7 separate regions of the Homo sapiens genome follow, and regions 2, 3, 4, 5, 6 and 7 are each linked to region 1. The links are contacts of gene promoters, found by promoter capture Hi-C in blood cells and fetal thymus (Javierre and others, 2016). All regions are on one chromosome and are shown on one strand. Each heading gives the region's core, a stretch centred on a gene start or on the middle of the fragment in contact. The rest is flanking DNA. Distances are from core to core; before and after follow the strand shown.

Region 1 (3,525 bases), core at 761-3,260:
GCAGCACATTTCACTGAACTCATTTCACCTCATATAATAAACCTCTGTTTATTGAGGGCCGGGACCGTGCCAGGCCCTTGGGTTAGGTGGTGACTGAGCTGTTAGAAAGTTTTCCTTTGATTGAGCCAAAATGTGTCTCCATGTAGCTTCCAGCCATGGGCCTCAGCCCTGCCCTTTGAAGTCACCCAGAACAAGTGTAATCTCATTGCAGTCTAATCCTCAGATATTTGAAAATATCTGTCATTTCCCCCAGCTTTCGTTCCTCCATGGATAAACATTTCTTTGTTGGTTTATTTTTATTTTTTGTGCCTTTCCTTTTTATTACTCAAATAATATCAGTTCATTGTGGAACTTTTTAGAAAATTCAGAAAAACATAAAGTAAAAATCCACCCCACTGTTACTCCCAGAAATGACAACCCTAACACTCTTTCTTCTCACCAGTCTTATTTTTTCTCTGCACGCTGTCCATTCTACATCTTTTTTCTTACCAAAATGGGATCATCCTTTAAGTAATATTTTAGAGACTTATTTTGTTTTCACTCTTTCAATATGTTAACTTTTCCCTCATTCTTCTACCATGCCAATTTTAATATGAAATTGTGTAACTGCCCAATGATTTATCTAACCAGCTTTTAAAAGTTGTTTTCAATTTTCCTTTGCTGAAAAGAACATAGTGGGACTAGAATTGGAAGTGGGGTGAAGATGGGGGGTAGGTGAACAGAGAAATGAGGAGCCCTTAAATTAGTCATGCTATCTTACCATCTGATTTTTTTTTCCATTTTCTGTGTTGAAAAATTATACTTCCCAGAACATGATTGTGAGCACCTGCTTGGCATTCAGTTGCAAGGATTTGCCCTAATTAATGTAACTGGTTTCCTATTATTGGACATTGAAGTTGTTTCTAATTTTTGACCATTACAAACCAGACTGTGATGAACATCCAAGAAGCTAAATCTGTGCTGGGGCTGGACACTGAGGTCAGGAGGAATATTTTCGAGACCTCTGAAGCATAAGGTCCCTGCCAGTAGTTGTAACTAGAAGCTTTCTGGCAAAGGCCCAGAAGGCTGGCTAAGGCCGAGGACTGTGCTCAGGCCTCTGGGCTTGCCCGGGTTCAGTACCCATTTATGTAGCCCCTGTCAGAGAGTGTTCAGGCTGGCATGGTCCTATGAGACCACTGGGCCAGCACCCTCATCTCTTACATGAGGGAACTGAGGCCTGGGGCTGGGGCTGGTCCTTCGGCAGCTCTGTAGTCGGGCAGAACTTTGCCTCTCCCCAGCACCCTGGCTTCTGAACTGGAAGCTAAGCTCTGAGGTTTGGAATCTCACCCAGAGGCCCTGTGAAATCCTGCCTGCTCTCCTTCACTGGACCACTTACTGCTGAGGCTGGAGGGGGCACTTTGACAAATGAACTGATCAGTAAGGGGCTGAGGGGCATTGAAAGAAGACTTAAGGTTTACCCAACAAGCATCTGGGCCTGCTCTGCCCAGAATGCCCCTTTTTTCCCTAACCCAGATGATATGCTTAATGGCAGTCACCCTACATTCAGGTCCACCTGGCAAATCTATCTGAGGTTGAGCTGAAATAACAAGTGAGTCCCTCACTCTCCTTAAAGGGGTCAGCTGTCTCTTCTTGCCAGGAACTGGCTTAGTTAAAGGCCTGTCTATTCAGCCCTCTGTCCCTGACATCTCTGTGGTTTCAGAGTGCTAATGAGCTCCTCTCCTTCCCCTCTCAGGCCTTGCTACTCCCTGGGGAATTCACACAAATGGTGTGCGATTTGCCCCTTCTGTGTTTTTCTTTCTGACTTGGAGGCAAAGCAAATCCCTCACCTCCCACTGACACCATGTTTATTCAACTGGGAGAGATTTCACACCCAGGTAACCCAGCTTTCCCTCCCTGAGCCCCTTCCCTAAATCTTTATCCCCCTCCCAAGTCATCCCACCCCTGTCCTCCCTGAATAATTTATAAGACCAGGCAGGGCTTATAAAAGGGTCTCCCAGGAAAAGCCAAAAGAGTGCAGAAGGTTCTGGGAAGTAGGAGACCCCACTGGCTTTGGTCCCCTAAGAATGGACTCTGCTGCCTGTGCTGCTGCTGCCACCCCTGTTCCAGCCCTGGCTTTGGCCCTAGCTCCAGACCTAGCACAAGCCCCACTGGCACTCCCTGGCCTGTTAAGCCCATCTTGCCTTCTCTCCTCTGGACAAGAAGTAAATGGGAGTGAAAGGTAAGTTGAGCTTAGCCTTTGGCAACCTGAACTTAGGCTTGAGAGCTTCCTGAGAGAGGAAGGAAAATGAGATGTCCAGGGCACCCTGTTCTCTGTGAAGGGGAAAAGCAATGGCCTCATAGCCCTCCCTCCTCAACTCTAGCTGGAATATCTCATCTGACTTTTCACCTCACTAATCCCGCTGGGTGGCAAGAGGGGACTTGGGGACAGCTGTTGCCAAAGCTGAAGGTGAAGCAGCCAGGTCCTCATAGGCCAGGTGGCTGAGTCCCCTGAGGGGGATGGGGAACTGCCATGAAACCTGGGCTTAACACAATCTAGACTGTGGGGGTGGGGAGTTTGGGGAAAGAGGACCAAAGTCTAAAGAGGCCCTTGACTGGGACATTGTCTTTTTCCTGACCACGCCATAAGATTTCCATTTGCTTTTTTCCTACCTCTGCAAGTCCAGTGGGGAAGCAGTGGACCCAGGAACATTTCTGGCCCTCTTCTTCAGCCCAGGAAGATGGTAGAGCTCTGAGTTCTACATCTTGGAGCAGGAAGTAGGAGGCAAGATATTTTCCATCTAGCCCCCACTCATTACTCCAAACATTTAGTCTTCAACAAACATTTACTGAAACAGCTACTGTGTACCAGACATTGTACTAGGTGTTGAGGATTCAGATACGATTGAGCATATCTTTGAGCTTAAGAAGCCCAAAGACAAGTAAATAGACAATTACAAAACAGCATGATAAAAGCAATAATAACATTGCTGAAGCCGAGAGGAGGGACATCTGTCCTGGAATGGGCTCAGGAGCCTTAGGAAAGGCTTCCTGGAGCAGATGGCACCTGAGCCAAGCTTTTGGGAGGTCTCTTGTTATCTCAGGGAGCCCACCTTTCAGTCTCTTCCTCTACGGATTGATCTCTCCTCTTTGTCCCAGAGGAACTTGTCTCTGGAGGCCCTGGCTGTCTTCCACAAATGACTCCCCAAGGCAGATGAGGAAGCTGGTGGATTTGGTGAGTTCGAGCCCTTGTGACGTGTGTTCACATGCAGCCACATGCATTAACAGTGACCAGGTCACTTCCCAGAGAGCCCCTGACCTCAGTCCAAAGGTGCAGATCTGAGATAGCATCCTCACAGTTTTGCCAACATTTGATTCCAACAGAGAGCAGATCCAAGCTTTCTGTGGCAATTGGAAAGATGAGGAGACCAAAGCTCAGAGTGGGCAAGGGATCTGGGCAGGCCCCACAGCCAGTGTGTGGCAGTGCTGGTGCTTGAGGCCTCGTCTCCTGGCACCTTACTCCAGTGCTCTCCCACCCACCCGATCTCC
Region 2 (3,525 bases), core at 537-3,036, 970 kb before region 1:
GGCCAGTATGGGGACCACCATTCTGGTGGCCTCTGAACAAACTATTTGTCTCCCCCTAGTGAAGACTGATATTAACACAGAAGTTTGGGCAATTCAAGGGAAAATTGGCCAATCCACAAATGCCATACCAGTCCAGGTTCACCTTAAGGATCCCACCTCATTTCCTAATCAGAAACAATATCCCCTGAAACCAGAAGTTAGGAAAGGACTAGAAGCCATCATTGATAACAAGGTTGCAGGGCCTCCTCAAACCCTGCAACAGCCCTTGTAATACTCCGATATTGGGAGTACAAAAACCCAATGGGGAATGAAGACTAGTTCAGGACCTCCACCTTGTTAATGAAGCTGTGGTTCCATTACACCCAGTGGTTTCCAATCTGTATACCCTGCTATCTCAAGTACCTGAAGGAACTAAACAGTTCACAGTCCTGGACCTAAAGGATGCCTTCTTCTGCATACCATTACACTCTGACTCCCAGTATTTGTTTGCATTTGAGGATCCCTCTAACCAAACTACCCAGTTAACCTGGACAGTGTTACCTCAGGGATTCTGAGACAGCCCTCACTTGTTTGGGCAGGCATTGTCAAGAGACTTCTCTGAGTTCCTTTATCCTCAGGTTAAAGTTTTACAATATATAGATGACATTCTCCTCTGTGCTCGAACTGAGGAAACCTCTCGGAGGGTAGTAAGGCTCTTCTCAATTTTCTGGCTAATAGAGGATATAAGGTTTCAAAATCTAAAGCTCAGCTCTGTCAGACTTCAGTGAAGTACCTTGGTCTGATCTTGTCAGAGGGGACCAGAGCACTGGGCAAAGAAAGGATTAAGTCCATCTCCTCCTTTCCCCTCCCCAAAACCCTCAAGCAACTGAGGGGATTCTTAGGTATTACAGGATTCTTCAGACTATGGATACTTGGGTATGGTGAAATAGTTTGTCCCTTATATCACCTAATAAAGGATACTCAGGCAGCTAAAACTCACTCTCTAATTTGGGAACCTGGGACTAGAAAAGCCTCTGACCAACTAAAGCAAACCTTGCTTAAGGCACCAGCCCTTAGTCTCCCCATAGGGAAGATGTTTAATCTTTATGTGTCAGAAGCAAAGCAAATGGCCCTGGGAGTGCTAACACAAGCCCTGGTCCAGCCCAGCAGCCTGTAGGCTACCTAAGTAAGGAGCTTGATTTGGTAGCCAAAAGATGGACAGCCTGCCTCCAGGCAGATGCAGCAGTAGCCTTGCTGGTACCAAAGGCTACTAAGTTAACCATGGGGAATAACTTAACTGTTTGCACTCCACATAATGTGTCAGGACTGCTGTCTTCTAAGGGGAATCTCTGGCTAACAGACAACTGCCTCCTCGTGTATCAAGTTCTGCTATTAGAGGGATCTGAAGTCCAATTAAGAACCTGTCCCTCCCTAAATCCAGCCACCTTCCTCCCAGAGGAAGCTGGGAAGCTTGAACATGACTGTGAACAGCTAGTAGTACAGACCTATGTGACCAGAGAGGATCTCAAGGAAACCCTCTTAGAGAACCCAAACTGGATTCTCTTTACAGACAGAAGTTCTTTTGTAGAACAAGGGATACATAAGGCAAGGTATGCAATAGTTACTCTGAATGATATTGTTGAGAGTGTGTCTCTCTACTCAGGGACAAGTGCTTAATTAGCCAAACTAATTGCCCTCACAAGGGCACTCAAATTAAGCAAAGGAAAAACAGTTAACATTTGCACTGATTCTAAGTATGCTTTCCTAGTCCTCTGTGCCCATGCCACTATCTGGAAAGCGAGAAACTTCCTCACAGGTAATGGGAGTCCCATTAAATACCATCAGGAAATTAATAGACTATTATCCTCGGTTTTTCTCACATGTGAAGTGGCAGTAATACATTGTAAAGGCCACCAAAAAGGTATGGATGAAGTAGCCAAGCAAAATAGATTGGCAGACCAAGCAGCTAAATCAGCAGCAACAAAGCCTCAGATTTCTGATCCACTTGAAGCCTCACTGATCTGAGAGGGCCCCTTAAGAGAAATATAATCTAAATATTCTCCTGTGGAAATAGAATGGGCAATCTCTCAGGGATACATCTTTCAGTCCCCAGGATGGCTACAATTGGAGGACAGCAAGCTTCATCTACAGGCTGCTGACCAATGGAAAGTTCTTAAAATCCTTCACCAAGCTTTCCACCTACGTAAGGATAAAACCCATCAGTTGGCCCAGAAATTGCTCTCAGGTAAAAACCTGATACAGTTAAACAGATCGTTAATGCTTGCTAGACCTGCCTTTAAAATAATCCCCTTAATCGACAGCTTCTTCCCCCAGGAATCCAAAGGACAGGAGGCTATCCAGGGGAAGACTAGCAGTGGATTTCACCCATATGCCAAAGGCAAGAGGCATCCAGTATCTCCTAGTGTGGATAGATACCTTCACTAACTAAGTAGAAGCAATTCCTTGTCAGACGGAGAAAGTCTCTGAGGTGATAAAAGTACTAATTAATGAGATAATTCCTTGCTTTGGACTCCCTAAGTACCTCCAGAGTGATAATGGCCCCTGTTCAAGGCAGCCGTCACCCAGGGGGTCTCAAAGGCACTAGGCATACAGTACCATCTTCATTGTGCTTGGAGACCACAATCCTCAGGAAAGGTAGAAAAGATGAATATTATCAAAATGCACCTCAGGAAGCTGTCTTAGGAGACTCGTCGCCCCTGAACTACCCTTCTCCCCATAGCCCTACTACATGTTAGAAACACCCCTCCAAAGCTGGGTTTGAGTTCCTTTGAAATGATGTATGGATGGCCTTTTCTCACGAATGATTTCTTGCTAGACCAAAAATCCTCTGATTTGATTAAACATATAACTTCTTTGGCCCATTTCCAACAGGAACTGAAACAACTGTTGGAGGTCCAATCCCAGGAACTAGGGCCACCTCTATTCAACCCAGTGGACCTAATACTGGTAAAGGTACTTGCTTCCCTTTCTCCCTCTATAAGCCCAGATTGGGAGGGATTATACTTCTTTCTACTCTTATGGCACTGAAAGTCACTGGAATAGATCATTGTATTCACTATACCCGAGTAAAGGCCTGGGAAGCTGACAGAGTTACCTGCATCAACCCAGAAGAGCACCCAAAGTACCTATGTGAAGAGATTGGGGAACTCAAGCTAAAAATCACAAAAGATAAGTGTTAATAATTAACCTTCCATGGATATCCTCTTTATAGTCTTGCCTAGGCTTGTTGTTTTTACCTCCATTCTGTGCTATACCATGGGGTATAATGTTGATTTCAGAATGATTAGTATATTTCACTTCTTATTTCTGTAATCTTCAGCATTAGATTCTCTCCTTTTAACTCCTCTTTGGACATATATTTGGTCCATGCATACTTAACCCTGTAAAACTTGTTTCTTTGCACCTAGAGGCCATCAAACTCCAAACAGTCAGGCAACCAGAACCTCAGACAATGGCTCCCTTTTGCTGGGGACCCTTAGGTAGACCTTGGGGAGGAATCTGACTGCTGTTCTTCCCATACTCACA
Region 3 (3,525 bases), core at 590-3,089, 950 kb before region 1:
ATAAAGAAATAAAATATATGGCATATTCAGGGACTAGTAGTTTCCTTTGGCTAGAACAGAGGGTAGAAAGAGAGTAGTGGGGGACGCAGCTGGAAATGGAGACCAAAGTCCTGTTATAAAGGTCTTAAGTGCCTAGATAAGGAGTTTGTAGTTTCTTTGTTTGTTTGTTTTTGTTGTTGTTGTTGTTGTTGTTGTTGTTTGCACTGAGGACTTACCAAAAGCTGTTGAGCAAGGTAATGGCATAATCAGGGCTGCATTTAGGAGATTAACCTAGCAGCAAAATGTGGGGCAGACTGAAATAGGAAAGCCCAGGGCAGGGGATGGGGGAAGGACACTGGTTAGAAGAAGGCTGCACTATTCAAGGCCGTAGGGTAATGCAAGTCTGGGCCAAACTGAGGATAATTGAAAGAAATGTGTTTCAGGAAAGGATTTGTCACTGTCAAATATGCGGAGAATGCAAGAAATATGAGGATTGATAAAAGGCAGCTGGATTTGGTAATTAGAGGTCACAGATGACCTTTTGAAAAGGTGTTTCAGTAGGGTTTTGGAAGAATTTGTGAAATCCTGAGGTTAGAGTATGGTGTAGTGACAAAGTAGAGGCTGCAAGTCTAGACTCCTCTTCAAAAATTTGGCCATAAGGTGAATATAATAACTCTGTAGTGTGATGAAAGGGTCTAGCTTGAGTTAGGCAGTGGGAATTGGTAGTGAATCCAGTTGATAATTTTCTCTAGCAGTGGCCCAAATTCCTATCAATGGAAATTCCATGTATCACAAATGAATATATTGATATATTAGGCGAATATATTGATATATTAGGCAAATATAATGTAGATTGATGAACGCCAAGCAAATACAATATTAGAAATTTGTGTTTCCAACTGTAATGCATTTCCATTCAAACATGGGATTCCATGAGAATAATGTTTTTAACAAGTACCTCAACCTGTTGCAACACTGATCACAAAACTGATATCTCATAAATAATTCACAGTACAGAGCAGGACATAGCAAAATCTCTGCTATGTGTTCCTCTTTTGTGGCCCAGAACTGAGACTCATGGCTTCTATAAAGCCACTGAAAACAAAAATTAGGGCTGAACACATAATTTGAGGTCTAGTTAGACTATGCGCCTTGAGTTACCATCACAAAATTATGGCAAATGGTTAGTTTGCCCCTAGCAATTTGCAGAATGCCAGCACATGTTAACAACACAGAGCTAGATCTGACAAGATGACTCTAATTTCAACCTTACTTCATTAATATGAAAATGCTTTGAAAAATAAATCTTTGGCTAATGAAAACACCATCTGTTGATGGCTTTTTGCCACTGTTTTCTTACAATATGAGACATAATTTGAGGAAAACACCGAACATTTACTTACTCATTTCCTATTCATTTACAAGGAATTAAAGCCTCCTCTCAAATTGGAATTTATTCTCAATAATGAACATATGCAAAGGGAAACAGAGAATTGAAGCGATTATGCAATCTAAGGAAGTCACTCTTCCTTATCATGCCTAGCACTGACGAGTCATTTAGAACAAAAAATTCTGGGCCACTCTAGGTTTGAATAATTTGATTGATTTGGCCAAGTAATTATCTTGTCTGTACTCTGGCTGAGTAAACAAAGAGGGTGTGTGTGTGTGTGTGTGTGTGTGTGTCTGTGTGTGTGTGGATGTGTGTGTCTAAAATCTCTATATAAAAGTAAACATGTCTCTTCGTTGTTGTTCAGTTTTGAAATATTGGTGTGTTTTGCTCTGCTCCTGTGCAATGTAGTTAATGACTGGGCCAGGTTCCTTATGTTCAAGCCCGGTTAGTGCAACTTTCTCAGGACAGTTAAACCGTGACAGCAAGAGAGCCAAAGTGGCAGGGGAGATTGGAATGGAGATATCTGCTGGTAGGAAACAGGACAGGAGGTTGGCAGCCAGGGGGCAGGATGAAGCTCCCATTTCCTGCTGCAAGAGGTTACCTCTGGGTCTTTGTGTGCTTCCCTTTTATGGATGTTACAGAAGCCATTTTAGTTTATGAAACTGTGATACCTTCTTCACCTCCAGATGACTACATTATGCTAGCTCACACAAAATTGTACATGTGTCTAAACAGCACAAAGTAAGGGAAAGATTTGGCTGATTTGCATAACAGATTTTAAAAGGCCTCAGTTAGCTAAATTGGCAGTCTACACTGATTCCATTTTTACCCAAGTTTTATTGTGTTGTATAGATTAGGCCTCTTTGTGCTCTCTTATTCCCTTCCCAAAGAGGAAAATGTTTTGCCATCTGAGAAAGCTGGGCACAGGCTATTCTTCTTCCAGACAGCATCCCATTAACAGAAATGGCTTCTTCAACCCTCAAATAATTGCTGGTTTTTTTTTTTCACTTCTCTAGACACAGATTATTTCAGGTAACTTTCTCATTGACTCTCTCAAGAAAACTAGGCGTACATCAAGACACCACCTCTTTATTAAAGCGAGGTAGATTACCCCATTATGGCACAAACTGGACCATGATCTCCATTTGTCATACTCCATGAAGGCATATGTATTCGCACATATATGAGCACTCCTACACACATCAACCTGACACAGTAAGTACTGAAGCCTAAAAGGGGGTGTAATCTGTATTAGTTCTATTGAAACATATCATTTCCACTGAAACATGGCACTGTCATAGAATGTCTGTATTCTCTCTTGCTGTCTAAAAGGTACAAGGGGAATATTATCTAAACCTAGACAAGATCCTGACTGCTTTTATGTGGGAATTGAACCTTGGGGTGAGCATAGGAAGGGGAGAAGTGAAATAGGGCAGAAAGGCCAATTCATCCCAAACCTGAGTCTTCCTGATTGACAGAAGACAACTTCATCTTTAAAAATAATCTGAGCCAGTGGCCCCATTACTATTCTTTGACATGCTCTTTTTTGACATCCTGTCTATGCACCGACATTTTCAGCTCTTCCAAAAGCCAGAAGCCAGAATCTTCACATGCTTTTAGGGTCACAGTCTGCTTTCTTTTTTTAACTGCTTGTCTTAAAATACTTACTTTGCTTTTGCTTCAGTCTGTCACTTTATGTATCAATTACATATGGCCTCTCAACAACAGAACATGCCATCTGGTTCACAAACTGAAGCCCACACCCTTATGCCAGAATTTATTCTTTCCCCAAACATTTATTTGCTGTTGTATAGACACAGGCTACGTCCCAGAATGAGATGAAGGTGATACACTGGATGTATATCATATAGGTCTACTCTACTTCAGGTTTGTTAAAGAATAACCTGACCCTCAAGCCAGGTGAAAGACTTGCCATCTTTTCAAAAGGCTCTGTGATCATCCAGCTGAGACCCACACCTCCCCCACTCTCCTTATCAGAAATGCTGCCCAAACCTTCCCATATTCTTTTCTTTCCCCCATCTTCAGGTGCATAGCATGATTACATCTCTAGCTCAAATGGATACATTATTATTTGGACATTCTAAAAGTAAACCTGTACTAAAAACTTAAATCTAGTGTTTATTTTGATAACCCTC
Region 4 (3,525 bases), core at 578-3,077, 920 kb before region 1:
AAGAAAAGTAGGGGAGGAGAACTCCCTATTCAGCAACTCCCTTCTATTGGAATATTGCCAGAGAACTGATTAGAGTACTGGGACGGAGCAGAATGGGGTTAAAGGCAGCCCTTCTGGCCCAACTTGAGAATCAGAGGGATCAACCCACACACAGTACTTCTCTATTTAGTTTCCAATATATTCCTTTATAAGGGCTCATCCTCAGAGACACACAACCATCACCATCTATCCGCCCCACACTCAGAAATCCTCAAAAAGGCAAAGTGGTTGAGAAGTAAGATGCTGCATGGCTGGGAGGCTGGGAGTGCACACGTTGATGGGGAAAGGCTGGGGTCCAAGGGGCTCTGCTGGGGGATTTGGGTAGGCAAGTAAGCGTTGTGACATAGGAAGGTGAGTGATCCTGAAAACGGGTAGGGGACCGTGGAAGAGAGAAAGTAAAGAGTACAACGACTGCAGGATTTCAATTTCCTGCTCTAAGAAGAAACACCTCTGAAAAATAATGTGCAACACACGAAGTGCTAAGTAACCTAAACCTTATCATCACCAGTAATGTTTCTGTAAATCTACTCCGCCGTTATTTACTTAATTCTTACAAGGCAGGAATGGAAAATCCCCACTCTCCCTGGTTGCGTCGCAGTCTGTCCTGTGGACATATGTAAGTTTTCCCTCTCCCCCACAGAGCTGATTTCACAGCTAGGCCAGAAATAAGGAACCATCCAGACGGAGACTCGAGGATCGCTCCCTGGCAGAAAAGGGATTAAGTTTCACCGGGCCTCCCCGCCGGCAGGGCGTCCGCAGCCACGCCGGCTGCTGCGACAGCACCGCCCGGCAGACGGCCGGCCAAGGGGCGACGCCTGGGCCGAGGAGGCTGCCGGCTGCGGGAGCGTGGGAAGGCGGCCGTGCCCTTTCCCAGACTCGCGCCCAGGCGCCGGGGGATTCGCTCGACTGCCCGCGCCGGGCCCGGCCAGGCTGCGCAGAGGCCTCGGCCGCCCCCGCCCCGCACCCCGGAGTGCAAACTCCGTCCCAGGAGGGCAGTGGCAGGAACCCGGGCCCCAACAGCATGACTGAGAGCCGGAGCTGAGCTGGGGCCCCCGTCGCCGTTTCGAGCCTCGCGGGCCCCATCACCCTGCCTCGCCGAGCCGGAGAGCCCTCGGCCAACGCCGGGCCCCGGCGGCACCTGAAAAGCGGCCGGAGCCGGAGACTAGCCCTGCGAGGGCTACGACGCTCGACCTCCAGGGCCGCGGCGAGGGGGCGCGTTTTACCCATAGCGTTCCCAGGTGCCAGCCATCTCCTCCGCTCGCTCGAGGGCGCTGGGCTCTCGTCTGCCTCCGCAGCGGGTTGGCTCGGGCTCCGGCGCGAGCTCCCGGGCCCCGGTCGCCGCCGCCGCCGCTACCACTGTAGGCCGCCGCCCGCCTTCGCCGCCGCTGCCGCTACCGTCGCCGACGCCGCGCAGCAGCCGGGATCCGCCAGCCCGCGCGCCCCGCAGGGGACAGCACGGCGGCCGCGATGCTACCGCAGCTGGGCCTCCCGAGCTAAACTTAAGAGTTTTCGCCCCTCAGTCCAGGGGCAGCACCATGACACCACGGCAGCACCACACTGTCATTTCCGCCGCCGCAGAGGAAAAAAAAGGCAATCCCTTCCAAAAGGGAGGCGGAGTGGGGGCAAACGGGGCTGGGGCTGACACCCCAAGGGAGCACTGGGAAGGGCCCAAGAAGAAGGGGTGCTCGGCCACCTTCCCAGGCTCACCTTCCGCCGCCCCCGCCACTCCCAGCTCCCCCAGCCCTTCCTCTGGAGGCACGTTTACATGTCTTCTCCCCTGGCAGGAGTGACCGGAGAAACCTGAGCAAGCAAAGGCAGCCGGTGGGTGGGGCTCGGGTTACTACTGTACCTACCAGCTGATTCCAGCAGCCTTTTCTCCAGCGCCCTGTCATCTTGAAGGAAGACACACCGAGAGGGACCCGGACGGGTGTGCGTGTGTGTGTGTATGGTGTGTATGTGCGTGTGTGTGTGTGTGACAGAGCGACAGAGATAGCTAAATGTGTGTGAAATGCAGAAGGAAGGCTATGGCTAAACTCTTCTCCCACTCCCCAATCCCCCTGTCCCCCAACCCCACAAACCCCCAGGTTAGAACAAGAAAGAGGCCTTTGCAACGGGTAATAAGAAGAGAGAGCCGGGTCCACCGCAGAGATCCTCCCTATGAAGCTGCTCTATGCAAAGTTAACTACAGAGTAAAACAAAAATAGTGGAGGAGATAGAAAAGGGCAGACAATTGAAGGAAACCGAACCTCTCTTTCTTTTTACAAAAAAAGAATGGCTGTGTTTTATTGGCCTCGGGCAGAAGTTGTGGAGGTGGATTAAAACCATCAAAAGAAAAAAAAAAGTAGGATTTTTCTTGTACCTTCAAATTGTTGACCAGTAAAACAAGAGGGTCGTTACCACATGGACAATGAGGCAGATGCTAGCTATCCAGCTATTCCAGGTCCCTAATAAGCTAATTGGTCCATTTGGAATCCAGCATCCTCCCATTGGTCTGGAATCAGCCTGTTTGCTGACCTGTCATTGGCTCAGAGACCACCACCCGACTCAAAAGGTGGATGGGAGAGGGAAAGAGCAGGAAGCCCCATAAGAGACTCTGTTTCTAACTTGGGGCAAAAAGGGAGAAGAAGGGGAAAGAAATGAGAAAATGGGAAGACTCACCCCAGCACACACACACACACGCCTCCCATCATTGTGCATAGGAACAAGTCCAGAAAAATTGAGGTATCTCTTGGTATATCCCTTCAGGGAACCAATAGTAATCAGTCAACACTCCTGTTAAACAATGTGCTAGAGAGCACTGAGGTGGAAACCAAGACAAAAGTCACAACCAGGCTCTCCTGATGAAAGTCTGGCCCCTAAGAGAAGTAAAAGTTAGTGAGTCACACTTAAAGCACAGGCAACAAAAGCAAAAATAGGTAAATGGGACCATAAAACTTTCAAACATCTGCACAGGAAAGGACACAATCAACAGAGTGAAAAAGCAACCTACAAAATGATAGAAAATATTTGCAAACCATATATCGGATAATGTGCTAATATCCAGAATGTATAAAGAACTTCTATAGCTCAATTAAAAAAAAAACTCTTAAAAGTGGACAAAAGACTTGAATAGACATTTCTCCAACGAAGATATACAAGTGGCCAACAGGCATATGCAAAGATGATCCACATCACTAATTGTTAGGGAAATGCAAATCAAACCCCAATGAAATATCACTTCACATCCATTAGGATGGTCACACACACACACACACACACACACACACACACACAAAACAAACACACAGGAAAATACGGCAAGGTGTGGTTCACACTTGTAATCCCAGCTACTCAGGAGGGGATGCTGAGGCAAGAGAGTCACTTGAGACCAGCAGTTAGAGATCAGCCTGGGTAACATGAATAGAACGTGTCTCTACAAAAAATAAAATTAGAACAGAAAATAATAAGTGTTAAGGTTGTGGAGAGATTGGAACCCTTGCACACTAT
Region 5 (3,525 bases), core at 386-2,885, 890 kb before region 1:
TTTGAGTTAATACTGAAGTGAGTTAAGACTGGGGGACTATTCAGAAAGGATGATTGTATTTTGCAATGTGAGAAGGACATGAGATTTGGGAGGAGCCAGGAGTGGAATGACATGGTTTGGATTTGTGTCCTGTCCAAATCTCATGTCTAATTGGAGGAGAGGACTGGTTGGAGGTGACTGGATCATGGGGGTGGATTTCCCCCATGCTGTTCTTGTGATAGTGAGTTATCCTGAGATCTGATGGTTTAAAAGTGTGTGGCACTTCCCCCTTTGCTCTCTCACTCTCTCTCCTGCCCACCATGGTAAGATGTGCTTACTTCCCCTTCACCTTCTGCCATGATTGTAAGTTTCGTGAGGACTCTCAGTCATGCCTCCTGTTAAGCCTATAGAACTGTGAGTCAATTAAACCTTTTTGCTTCATAAATTACCCAGTCTCAGGTAGTTCTTTACAGCAGTGTGAAAATGGACTAATATAGAAGTAAATCACAAAAGGGATAAACACAGGATCCATGAAATAGTCAGTCCAATTCAGGACTATAGTGAAGAAAAATCTCTGGATGGAAACTGTTGTCTAGGGAGTGGTTTGCAGCCAGTTGTGATTTTGCCTCCCCACTGGCCTGCCAGAAACAACTGGTAATGTCTGGAGACATTTTTGGTTGTCACAAGTTGAAGTGTGTGTGCGCGCACAAATGCGTGCTACTGTATTTAATGGGTATATGAGGCCAAGGATACTGAATTCTACAATGCACTACACAGCCTTCCACAACAAATAATTCTCTGGTCCAAAACATCAGTAGGGCTGAGATTGAGAAATCCTGGTCTAGAGAGTAACAAATCCAAACTGGAATAGGAGGACAGACAGACCATGGAGAGGAAAGTAGAATTGTCGGGTGCAGTGGCTGACGCCTGTAATCCCAGCACTTTGGGAGGCCAAGGCGGGTGGATCAGGAGGTCAGGAGTTTGAGACCAGCCTGGCCAATATGGTGAAACCCCGTCTCTACTAAAAAAAATACAAAAATGAGCTGCGTGTGGTGGCACACACCTGTAGTCCCAGCTACTCGGGAGGCTGAGGCAGGAGAATCGCTTGAACCCAGGAGACAGAGTTTGCAGTGAGCCAAGATTGTGCCACTGAACTCCAGCCTGGGCGACAGAGTGAGACTTCAAAAAAGAAAAAAGTAGGAGAATATCCATGGAAAGCTTAATTTTTTACAGAGTTTGAAGGAAATTAAGGGGTGCAATAAAGGCAAATATAAGAAAGAGAGAATGGTAAATAAAAATTCCAGCAGAAAAGATATAGATGTTGGACTCTCCCTGGCTTTGCAAGGAACTTTATTTATTTATTTATTTACTTATTTTTGAAATAGGGTCTCACTCTGCCACCCAGGCTGGAGTGCAGTGGAACAATCTCAGTTCACTGCGACCTCCGCCTCCTGGGCTCAGGAGGGATCACTATCCTACCATCTCAGCCTCCTGAGTAGCTGGGACCACGGGCACATGCCACCATGCCCAGCAATTTTTGTATTTTTGGCAAAGACAGGGTTTCACCATGTTGCCCTGGCCAGTCTTGAACTCCTGACCTCAAGTGATCTGCCTACCTCAGTCTCCCAAAATTCTGGGATTACAAGCATAAGCCACTGCGCCTGACCAGGGAACAATATTTATATAGTCACAGTAATAAAATACTCTTTACTAATTGTAAACTTTTGGAATTAACTGAAAGACAGAGCACGGACAACTTTATCAAGTTTGACAATGTAAAAACAGAAATATAGATGAAAAAAGCTAGAAAGTAGAAGGGGGAGGAAGAAAGATGAAGAAAAGGCAAAAGGACATTAACATCTTCATCTTACAAAGTGGGAAGTACTATATGGTGGAGCAAAACAAAAATGGGGTTATATTTGTATATATTAAAGTTATAGGAGAACCTGTAGTAAACTGTATAACTCATCACTAATATTCAGGATCTCTTCCTACAGATCCTTCTCCACTCCCTCAGAATCAGTTTTGACAACATGTTTTGAGAATGGAAATGTGAGCAAAAGTGACGGATATCATTTCTGGGTGGAAGCTTGAGGAGCCAGGACATGATTTGTCACTCTGTTTTTCCCTCTGTCATCATCATTCCAGATAGTGGGTATACTATTAGCCTAGGCCCCAGAAGGAGGACAATCATGGCATGGAGCAGACCCCGGCACCATGTAATCAGCAATGGGAATGTAGTGGGAGGAACAGAACTTAGTAATTTTAAGCACTAAAATTTTTCGATTTTTTATTACTGCAGTATAACCTAAGTTATGCTATGTAACAGTAAAGAAAGTAAGTACAGATGCTCATTGACTTATGATGGGGTTACATCCTAATAAGCTTATTGTATATATTAAGTTGAAAATGCATTTAATACATCTAACCTCTCAAATATAGCATAGCACAACCTATCTTAAACATTTTACATTAGCCTACACTTGGGCAAAATCATCTAACCCAAAGCCTATTTTATAATAAAGTGTTAAGTATCTCATGCAATTTGTTGAATACTATACTGAAAGTCAAAAACGAAATAGTTGTATGGGTACCTGAAGCATGGTTTCTACTGAATGCACATCACTTTTATACCATTGTAAAGTCCAAACATTGTAAGCCAAGCCATTGTAACTCAGGAACCCTCTGTAAAGTGTTGTGAACTATATTGAGAGGATGGAGAGTAGAGAAGTGCAAATGGGGGTGTAAGTGAGCTAAATCCTCATCTCTGAAAGTAGGAAGTCAGTACGTAGCGTTTAAAAAGAAAGTAAGTAGTCATGTTATTTGGAGATATGGAGGAAACTACCAAGAAACAAACAAACCAAAAACTAATAAAAATAATTAAGCGTTATCGTCCAGGGAATAGGCGTAGGATAGGAAGAGGTGGGGCAGGAGGATTTTTGTTTTTATTACAAATTCTTCCAGACTTTTCTATGGTTTCAAATAATAGTGCTTGTGTTTCTCTTGATAACTTTTTAAAATTTCCACTTATTTGACTGTATTTTATGCAAGCTCTAAAAAAAATTATAATTTTGGGCTGCAGGAACATGGCCATAGAATCCAACAGAAATCTTCTTAAAAGGGAAGTTGTGCTTTGGTTGACTCTGATCTTACATACCTAATTTGTTCCCGAAGAACACTTCACTTTGGACCACCTAACAGTCAAACTGGTAATCTGAAAAGCATCTTCAAAATTCAGACAAAAACAAATGGATTTTTTTTGTTTCTGCTATTTAACAAATTTTCAGAGAAAAAAATACATCAACAAGTAAGGTAATTTAAACTTGGAATTGGCTATTTGCAGACTTGAGGTTGGTCTATAACACACTTTTCAAGGGGTTAGAGTTAAAACTTTTTCTCTATGGATTGTTCTAGATCTGAGTCTGTCTTCCAAAGCCTCCTCTACCAGAATGAAAATCTTCACGAAACTCATCCCTTACCTGACCCCCAGATTTACCGCGACCATACTGTTGACCCTCTCTAAAACCGACATCCCAATCAGTGCAG
Region 6 (3,525 bases), core at 471-2,970, 730 kb before region 1:
AGTGGTGCATGCCTGTATTCTCAACTACTTGAGAGGCAGAGGCAGGCAGATCACTTGAGCCCGCGAGTTTGAGGATGCAGTGTGCTATGATTGTGCCTGTGAGTAGCTATTGGACTCCAGCCTGGGCAACATAGTGAGACCTCATCTCTAAAAAATAAATTAAAATCTTTAATAATAAAAAAAGAAAATCATATATACTAAATATTAAAGGGAGAAACTGTTCAAAATATATTGCTAAGTGAAGAGAGCTATAAATGTATTAAACATTCTTGAAAAAGTGTATCTTACACAAATATCTGGGAGGTCAGAAATGATAATGTGACATTTATGTCAGGTGGCAGAATTAAGAGGCATATCTTCTCCCTTCCGTGTTCTAAATTTTCCACATTTTCTGCAATATTATCACCACCCCTTCTTGTCAACATTTACTGTTGTACTTATTATGTTTTGGACAAGATCCTAAGAACTTTACTTCTATCTCATTTAATCCTCATAACAACAGTATGGGTAGGTACTACTTTACAGATTAGATTATTGGGGCAAAGAAAGGTTAAGGATTCAGATCCAAGTTCTCTGATTTCAGCACTTTTAACACCCACCCCCTCCGTGTGTGTGTGTGTGTGTGTGTGTGTGTGTGTGTGTTTCCTAAATAACCAGACAGCCAAGGATGATCCTTATGTTAGAAGAAAAGCTACTCTGCTCAAGAGAGCATCAACCAAGAGTCACCTGGGGGAGCAGTTATAGGGAGCAGTTACCATTTCTTCAGTATAGGAAAAACAAAGATAGGGGGAACTCCATAAAAAAAAATGTGATTATGTTCAATGAAGATTTCAGAATATCTAGGAAACAAGAAGCTAATGATTAAGCCAGAAACAAGAAAATCTAACCAGTCAGCAATTATCCATGTTGGACTTAATAGAAATCAATCAGTAGAAAACTAAGTTGTCCTCCCCCTCTCCTCTCCCAATATAGCCTCAGGTTCTGGGGTGCTGCATTATGCAGAGGGCAGAAGGATTAACACAAGGAGAAAATAAAGCTTTCATGCCTTCACATTTTTCCTAGACGCATAGGAAAAGGATTAAATATCCACAGGGGCCAAAGAAAACCTCTAAATGAAAAACATTCTTGTCCCCTAACTATATTGCCAATCACAAAGTCTAGTCCTGTTTTGTATTCTTTATTAAGGCCCATGAGCCATAATGGTTTGGAAAAATCTAAAGACAGCAGTTTGTAAGCCTCTTTTAACTAAGGTATTGCCTGGTTACAGATGGCAATGTTTACACTATCATTTGCATCACAATCAGTAGCACAATAATTCGGGAAGAAGCTGTCCATTATCGGTGACATTACTTTATCAGCTGGGTCTAAAAGAGATAAGGCGAGTTAAACTTGGAAATCAGTCCAAAGAAAGCAAAAAAGTAAGCAAAAACATTTAGGAAAAAATATTCGAAATATTCTTATCTGATTATTAGGTGAAAACTTTCCCCTTAACAAATCTGTAAGATTGTGGGCAGGGCTCTGATTTAATCGATAGGGTAACAATAAAATACAAATTACACCTATCAGAAACTAAAGATCCCACACTTAGGTGGAAGGGGCACTGAAATAATCAGGTAACCAAGTCATCTCTAAAACAGTCCCATGGTGCCGGTAGAGGGTGTAAGTCGGAGTCGAGGAAGCAAGTTTTACTGGCAAGGCAATGGAAAAAACGCAAGTTGCAATGCACTGTCCAATCCTAGTCTTCCACTACATTGCCTGTCCTCAATTATCTTTAACATTCAGGTATAAAATTGTTTCCTAAATTCCCTACACAGAGCTTAAAGAAGGAGCCAAGTCCAGGATGGACTCGGTTACTGAAAAATACGCTTTTGCATTATCTGTACCACTAGCTGCACTGGGGAAGGTCAAACATTCCAGAATTGAGATTTCCAAGATTTTTTGGATGGCTCAAGCTGAGATGCTGGCTATCAAGGATGCAGAGTCAACGCATCACTTTAACAAATCAACTAGATTTATGGCTCCAATTACTCAGGTAGATGATTCATAAGATGAGAAAAGCCAACGCTTGCTGATCTAAGGGAAGTCGTAATAATTTTGGCGCCTGCAGTATATAATGTCAGTTTCCCTCAACACCAAGCCGAACGGACCAACACCATTTCGAATCAAAAAGCTGCTTATTGGACTCTAGGAAAAGAAAGACCAGGAGAGCTCAGTACGCAGGTAGGCTCTCTAAATGCAAGCTAGTCTAAGAGCTGAAGCAACCCAGTCCAGCCTGGGTGGCTCAACAGCAAAGCCAAGCCACGTGTCCCTACCGCCCTGGCTAAGCGTCGGTCCCCTCTCGTCGCTCTATGCAGCCACTATCTATTGGGTCCCCCAGCCCTTGCCCTCAAACGCAGAAGCTTCGCCTCACACTCCATCTTTTGACTCCACCCCACCGCACGGTAAGAATGAACGTGACCCTCCCGCGAGAGGTAAAATAACGGAAACAGCCCGTGGGGTAGGCTAGTCACAGAGCTGCACCCTCTCCCCCCAACCCCCAGTCTGTTTGAGCTCAAGCGGCGACCCCATCCCTCCTATACTCTGCCGCCTGGGCAGGTGAGGTCTAGTCAGGGTCCCAACTTGGTCCTTACCAGGTCTCCTGGTTGCTGAATTTCTTAGTCACCACCTTGCCTAGCTCCAGGCCCAGGCGGTCAGCAATTTTCTGAGATAAGTCCTGGTGGGAGCTGCCGCTGAAGATTTTGATATTCGGCATCCTGGCCAACTACCCTAAGCACTCCACTAAGCGATCACGGCTGCTGCAGAGACCGGAACCGAAGTCGGCCACAGACTCAATACCAAGCGCTTTGCGTTGCTACTCCGCCATCTTACATTCCCGCCCGGCGCGCGGCTCTAAATTACCCAAAGCGGCGGAGGTGGGGTCAGCGGCGAAGTCCACACCCCGCTGGCAACGATTAGCTAAGAGGGAGCGAAGGGCGGGGTTTGGTCCTCGGTGTAGCTCTGCCTCCTTCCGATTCTCTCAGGTATTGGGTGAAGAGCATGAACGGGGGCGAGACTAACCCATAGCCCGGCCCCCTGTAGCTAGGCTGTTGGGGACAGGAGACGTTGGACTGGGGGTGGAGGGATGCTGGTGACGTCTGAGGCCAGATCGTTCCCGCTAGCGGGAAATCAACCATGCCTGCTTTTTTATTTCCCCTCCCTCAGCGCAGGAAAGTAAGTCTGGCTCTGGTTTACAGTTTCCTTTAAGAAAATCTGTTTATCAGGATGACAGCCACGAGTTTGCATGTTTCTGAACACATTTTTTATCTCTTTATAAGGATGGGGCTGAATTAAAACACTTTTACATCACAGACGTGCATGCAAGGAGTTTGCTTGCCCATTGTAATTGCAGTGTCGCCTTTGCCTGCAAGACAGTTTACATGGGGGAAGTGACTGAAGGCATGCCACCTGAATCATCCAAGAGACACTGCAAGAGAAAGTTGTTTTGTTTCTAGTGCTGGAACCAAGTATGTTGAAACAAGTGAAGGA
Region 7 (3,525 bases), core at 345-2,844, 530 kb before region 1:
TTGTGAAACCATCACCACAATCATATCCAACACCTCCAAAAGTTTTCTTCAGGCTCCTTTGCAAATCATTTCTTTATCCCTAGGCAACCACTGACCTGCTTTCTGTCACTATAAATTAGAATCATGCAGTATGTGTACTTCTGCGTCTGACTTCTTTCACACATCATAATATTTATGAAATTCATGTTGTTTCATGTATCATTAGTCAATTCCCTTTTATTGCTGAGTAGTACTCCATGGTATGGATTTACTAAAATTTGTTTATTCACTTTTATTGGGTATTTGGATTGTTTCCATTTTTTGACAATTGTAAATAAAGCTGCTAAGAGGATTTGTGTACAGGGTTTTGTGCAGACATATGTTTTCCATTCTCTCTACGAGTGAAAAAGCTGTATCATATGATTGGTATTAAGTTTAACTTTATGACACTGCCAAAGTACTTTCCAAAGTGGTTGTACCATTTTAGAATCCCACCAACAATGAAACAGAGTTCCAGTTGCTTTACATCCTTGCCAAACTTGGTATTAACATTCCTTTTTATTTCAATTACTAGTGGCTCTCTAAAGGCACACTTTTGCAGTTTTAATTCTCATTTCCTGAATGATGAATTTTATGTGTTTGTGAGCCGTTTTTGTATCCTCATTTGTAAAGTGACTTTTCAAAAAATTTTTTGCCCACTTAAAAATATTGGTTTGTTTCAGTAAGTTTTATTGAGTTTGATTTTTTTCACAGATGGAGTCTCGCTGTGTTGCCCAGGCTGCAACCTCAAGTGATCCTTCTTGGCCTCCTAAAGTGTTGGGATTACAGGCATGAGCCACTGTGCCTGGCCTCTTACTAAGTTTTAATAGCCTCTTTACATATTCTAGATACAAGTTCTTTGTCAGATATGTGATTTGCAAATATTTTCTCCCAATTTGTAGCTTGTCTTTTTATTCTCTTAACAGTATCTCTCACAGAGCAAAAGTTTTACCTTTTAATAAAGTCCAATTTACCAATTTTTCTTTTTTATGGATCAAGCTTTTGGTGGTATATCCAAAAGTTCTTTGCCTAACCCAAGGTCACAAAGATTTTCCCTTACATCTTCTTCTAAAAGTTTTATAGTTTTAGGTTTTGCATTTAGATCTAATATCTATTTTGAATTCACTTTTATATAAGGTATAATATTTAGGTCAATGTTCTTTTTTTAAAACTGTGGATGTTCAACTGTTTCAGCATTATTTGTTGAAAAGATGATGTTTTCTCTGCTGAATTGTTCTTGCATCTTTGTCTTTTTTTTTTTTTTTCAGACAGAGTCTCACTCTGTCACCCAGGCTCTGGAGTGCAGTGGCACCATCTTGGCTCACTGCAGCCTCTGCCTCCCGGGTTCAAGCAATCCTCTTGCCTCAGCCTCCCTATTAGCTGGGATTACAGGTGCCCACCACTATGCCCTGCTAATTTTTGATCTTTAGTAGAGATGGGGTTTCTCCATGTTGGCCAAGCTGGTCTTGAACTCCTGACCTAGGGTGATCTGCCCTCCTCAGCCTCCCAAAGTGCTGGGATTACAGGCATGAGCCACCACACCTGGCCTTTTGTCTCTTTTTTGTACATCTCTTTCTGAACTCTCTTTTCCATCTCATTGATTTATGTGCCTATCTCTTCACTAGTAACACTCAGTATTGATTACTTAACTTTCTATAAATCTTAAAATCATTCAATGTGATTCCTCTAATTTTATTTTTTCCACAAATAATGTCTTGGCTTTTCTAATTCCTTTGCCTTTTCTTTCTTTTTTTCTTTTTCTCTTCTTTCTTTTTTTTCCCCTCTGAACTTTTAATCAGCCTCCTGCTCCCCAAAGAGTACCCTGCTTCTGCTGGCTTAATGTCTGACATCACTTTATGATCCACTATCCGGCAGATGGTGGTCTTTTGAATGGTTTGCATGGAATTGCTGGTGTCCAGGGCATCACCAAGATTGAAGTCCTTGCCATCTTCCAGCAGGTGGCAGTAGGTGGCGATCTTAGCCTCCAGCTTGACCTTGATGTTCAGCAGGGCCTTGTACTCCTGGGCCTGGCACTGTCCCTCTGCCCGGATCTGTGCCAGCTCCGACTCCAGGTGGAGCAGGATCCCGTTGATCTGCTCCATCTGTAGGGCATAGCGGGCCTCCACTTTCCTCAGGCTGCTCTCCAAGCTTGCCTTCAGATTTCTCATTGAGTCCAGGTCAATCTCCAAGGACTGGACTGTATGTCTCAGTTCCGTGAGCGCCATCTCAGCAGCTCCAACCTCGGCGGACTGTGTGGTGACCATTGTGGTGCTCTCCTCAGTCTGCTGAGACCCGTACTTGTCCAGCTCCTCTTGGTTCTCCCGAGCCAGCTAGTCATATTGGGCCTGGATGTCTGCCATGATTTTGGTGAGGTCCTGAGATTTGGGGTATCTACCTCCATGGACAACCCAGAGCTGGCAATCTGGGATTGTAGGCCTTTTACTTCCTCTTCGTGGTTCTTCTTCATGAAGAGCAACTCCTCCTTGAGAGCCTTGACCTCTGCCTCTAGCTGCAGCTGAGTGACATTGGTGTCATCAATGATCTTGTGGAGCCCATGGATGTCGCTCTCCACAGACTGGTGCATGGTCAGCTCTGTCTCATCCTTGACTCTAAAGTCATCTGCTGATGCAAGACAGGCATTGTCGATCTTCAGAACGATGCGGGCATTGTCCACACCTTTGCCTTTTCATATTAATTTTAGAATAAGCTTGTCTATATCTGCAAGAAACCCCTTGGAATTTTGGTAAATATTTATTATTTATCAAATGATGAATATAAATGATAAATATTGCATTAAATCTATAGCCAGTTAGGGATAATTGACATTTTAACCATGTTAAGTCTTCTAATTCATGAATATGGTATGTCTCTCCATTATTTAGGTTTATCTGATTTCTTTTATCAGCATTTCATAGTATTCAGCATATGAACCCTGACATGGTTGGGAATGTGGCTTTGAAAAACACAACTCTACGAGACATTCGGTTGGCTTTTTCAGTTAGAAAACTCATGTTTTCCATTGGCTTTCAGAATTTTATCATATTACTTCTTTGATAATTTTCTCCCTTCTTTCTGGAATTTCTAATAATTGGATGCTAGATGTTGAACTTCCTAATTTTTTCTTCATTATTGCTTTTCCTTTATTTCTTATCTATTTTTCCCCATTGTGAGGGATTTCCTCATCTTTATCTTCCAGTCCTTTGTAGTAGGCAGAATTCTACGATTGCCCCCAAGATTCCTGACTCATGTACATGTCCTGTATAACCCTCTCCTCTTGCGTGTGGGTGAGACCTGTGAATAGGATGGCATGTTACTTTCATGATCAGGTTATATGGCAAAAGTAAAGGAATTTTGCAGGCATCGTTAAGATCTCAAATAAGTTTATTTTTAGTTAATCAAAAGTGATATTATTCTGGGTAGACCTGACTTAATCAGTGAGCTTTTTTTTTTATACTTTAAGTTCTAGGGTACATGTGCACAACGTGCAGGTTTGTTACATAGGTATAT

What was found. The method cuts DNA at HindIII sites, captures the fragments that hold promoters and counts their contacts. A CHiCAGO score of 5 or more calls a contact.
Region 2: a contact is called between a fragment that was not itself captured here and the fragment with the promoter of RIPPLY1 in region 1, in 3 of 17 cell types (non-activated CD4 T cells, total CD4 T cells and fetal thymus). The highest score is 7.6, in non-activated CD4 T cells.
Region 3: a fragment that was not itself captured here is called in contact with the fragment with the promoter of RIPPLY1 in region 1 in 2 of 17 cell types (neutrophils and total B cells); the score reaches 6.6 in neutrophils.
Region 4: the fragment with the promoter of MID2 here is called in contact with the fragment with the promoter of RIPPLY1 in region 1 in 5 of 17 cell types (total CD4 T cells, erythroblasts, monocytes and 2 more); the score reaches 6.3 in total CD4 T cells.
Region 5: a fragment that was not itself captured here is called in contact with the fragment with the promoter of RIPPLY1 in region 1 in 3 of 17 cell types (naive B cells, naive CD4 T cells and total CD4 T cells); the score reaches 6.7 in naive B cells.
Region 6: a contact is called between a fragment that was not itself captured here and the fragment with the promoter of RIPPLY1 in region 1, in 1 of 17 cell types (naive CD4 T cells). The highest score is 5.1, in naive CD4 T cells.
Region 7: a contact is called between a fragment that was not itself captured here and the fragment with the promoter of RIPPLY1 in region 1, in 1 of 17 cell types (total CD8 T cells). The highest score is 5.0, in total CD8 T cells.

The regions. Positions count from the first base shown.
Region 1 is chrX:106,901,826-106,905,350 of GRCh38, reverse strand. RIPPLY1 (ripply transcriptional repressor 1) reads left to right here and starts at 2,010. Exons shown (of 4, transcript NM_138382.3): 1 at 2,010-2,218; 2 at 3,136-3,211. The coding sequence starts at 2,064. It also overlaps a transcript of CLDN2 not described here. The HindIII fragment of the contact is 2,011 bases long and covers 1,045-3,055 here.
Region 2 is chrX:107,872,122-107,875,646 of GRCh38, reverse strand. The region is part of intron 3 of MID2 (midline 2); the gene reads right to left. Among named protein-coding and RNA genes, the nearest start is that of MID2, 48 kb to the right of the region's middle. The HindIII fragment of the contact is 669 bases long and covers 1,452-2,120 here.
Region 3 is chrX:107,848,327-107,851,851 of GRCh38, reverse strand. The region is part of intron 2 of MID2 (midline 2); the gene reads right to left. Among named protein-coding and RNA genes, the nearest start is that of MID2, 24 kb to the right of the region's middle. The HindIII fragment of the contact is 7,784 bases long and covers 1-3,525 here.
Region 4 is chrX:107,824,168-107,827,692 of GRCh38, reverse strand. It overlaps MID2 (midline 2), which reads right to left and starts at 1,827. Exons shown (of 10, transcript NM_012216.4): 1 at 1,263-1,827. The coding sequence starts at 1,266. RefSeq lists silencers at 1,010-1,059, 1,220-1,409. The HindIII fragment of the contact is 8,930 bases long and covers 1-3,525 here.
Region 5 is chrX:107,794,547-107,798,071 of GRCh38, reverse strand. NCBP2L (nuclear cap binding protein subunit 2 like) reads right to left here. Exons shown (of 2, transcript NM_001348372.2): 2 at 2,243-3,525. The coding sequence ends at 3,390. Among named protein-coding and RNA genes, the nearest start is that of NCBP2L, 19 kb to the right of the region's middle. The HindIII fragment of the contact is 871 bases long and covers 1,200-2,070 here.
Region 6 is chrX:107,627,856-107,631,380 of GRCh38, reverse strand. PRPS1 (phosphoribosyl pyrophosphate synthetase 1) reads right to left here and starts at 2,871. Exons shown (of 7, transcript NM_002764.4): 1 at 2,631-2,871. The coding sequence starts at 2,752. RefSeq lists a silencer at 2,984-3,033. The HindIII fragment of the contact is 1,363 bases long and covers 1,039-2,401 here.
Region 7 is chrX:107,427,795-107,431,319 of GRCh38, reverse strand. It overlaps the pseudogene KRT18P49. Among named protein-coding and RNA genes, the nearest start is that of FRMPD3, 20 kb to the left of the region's middle. The HindIII fragment of the contact is 1,149 bases long and covers 1,020-2,168 here.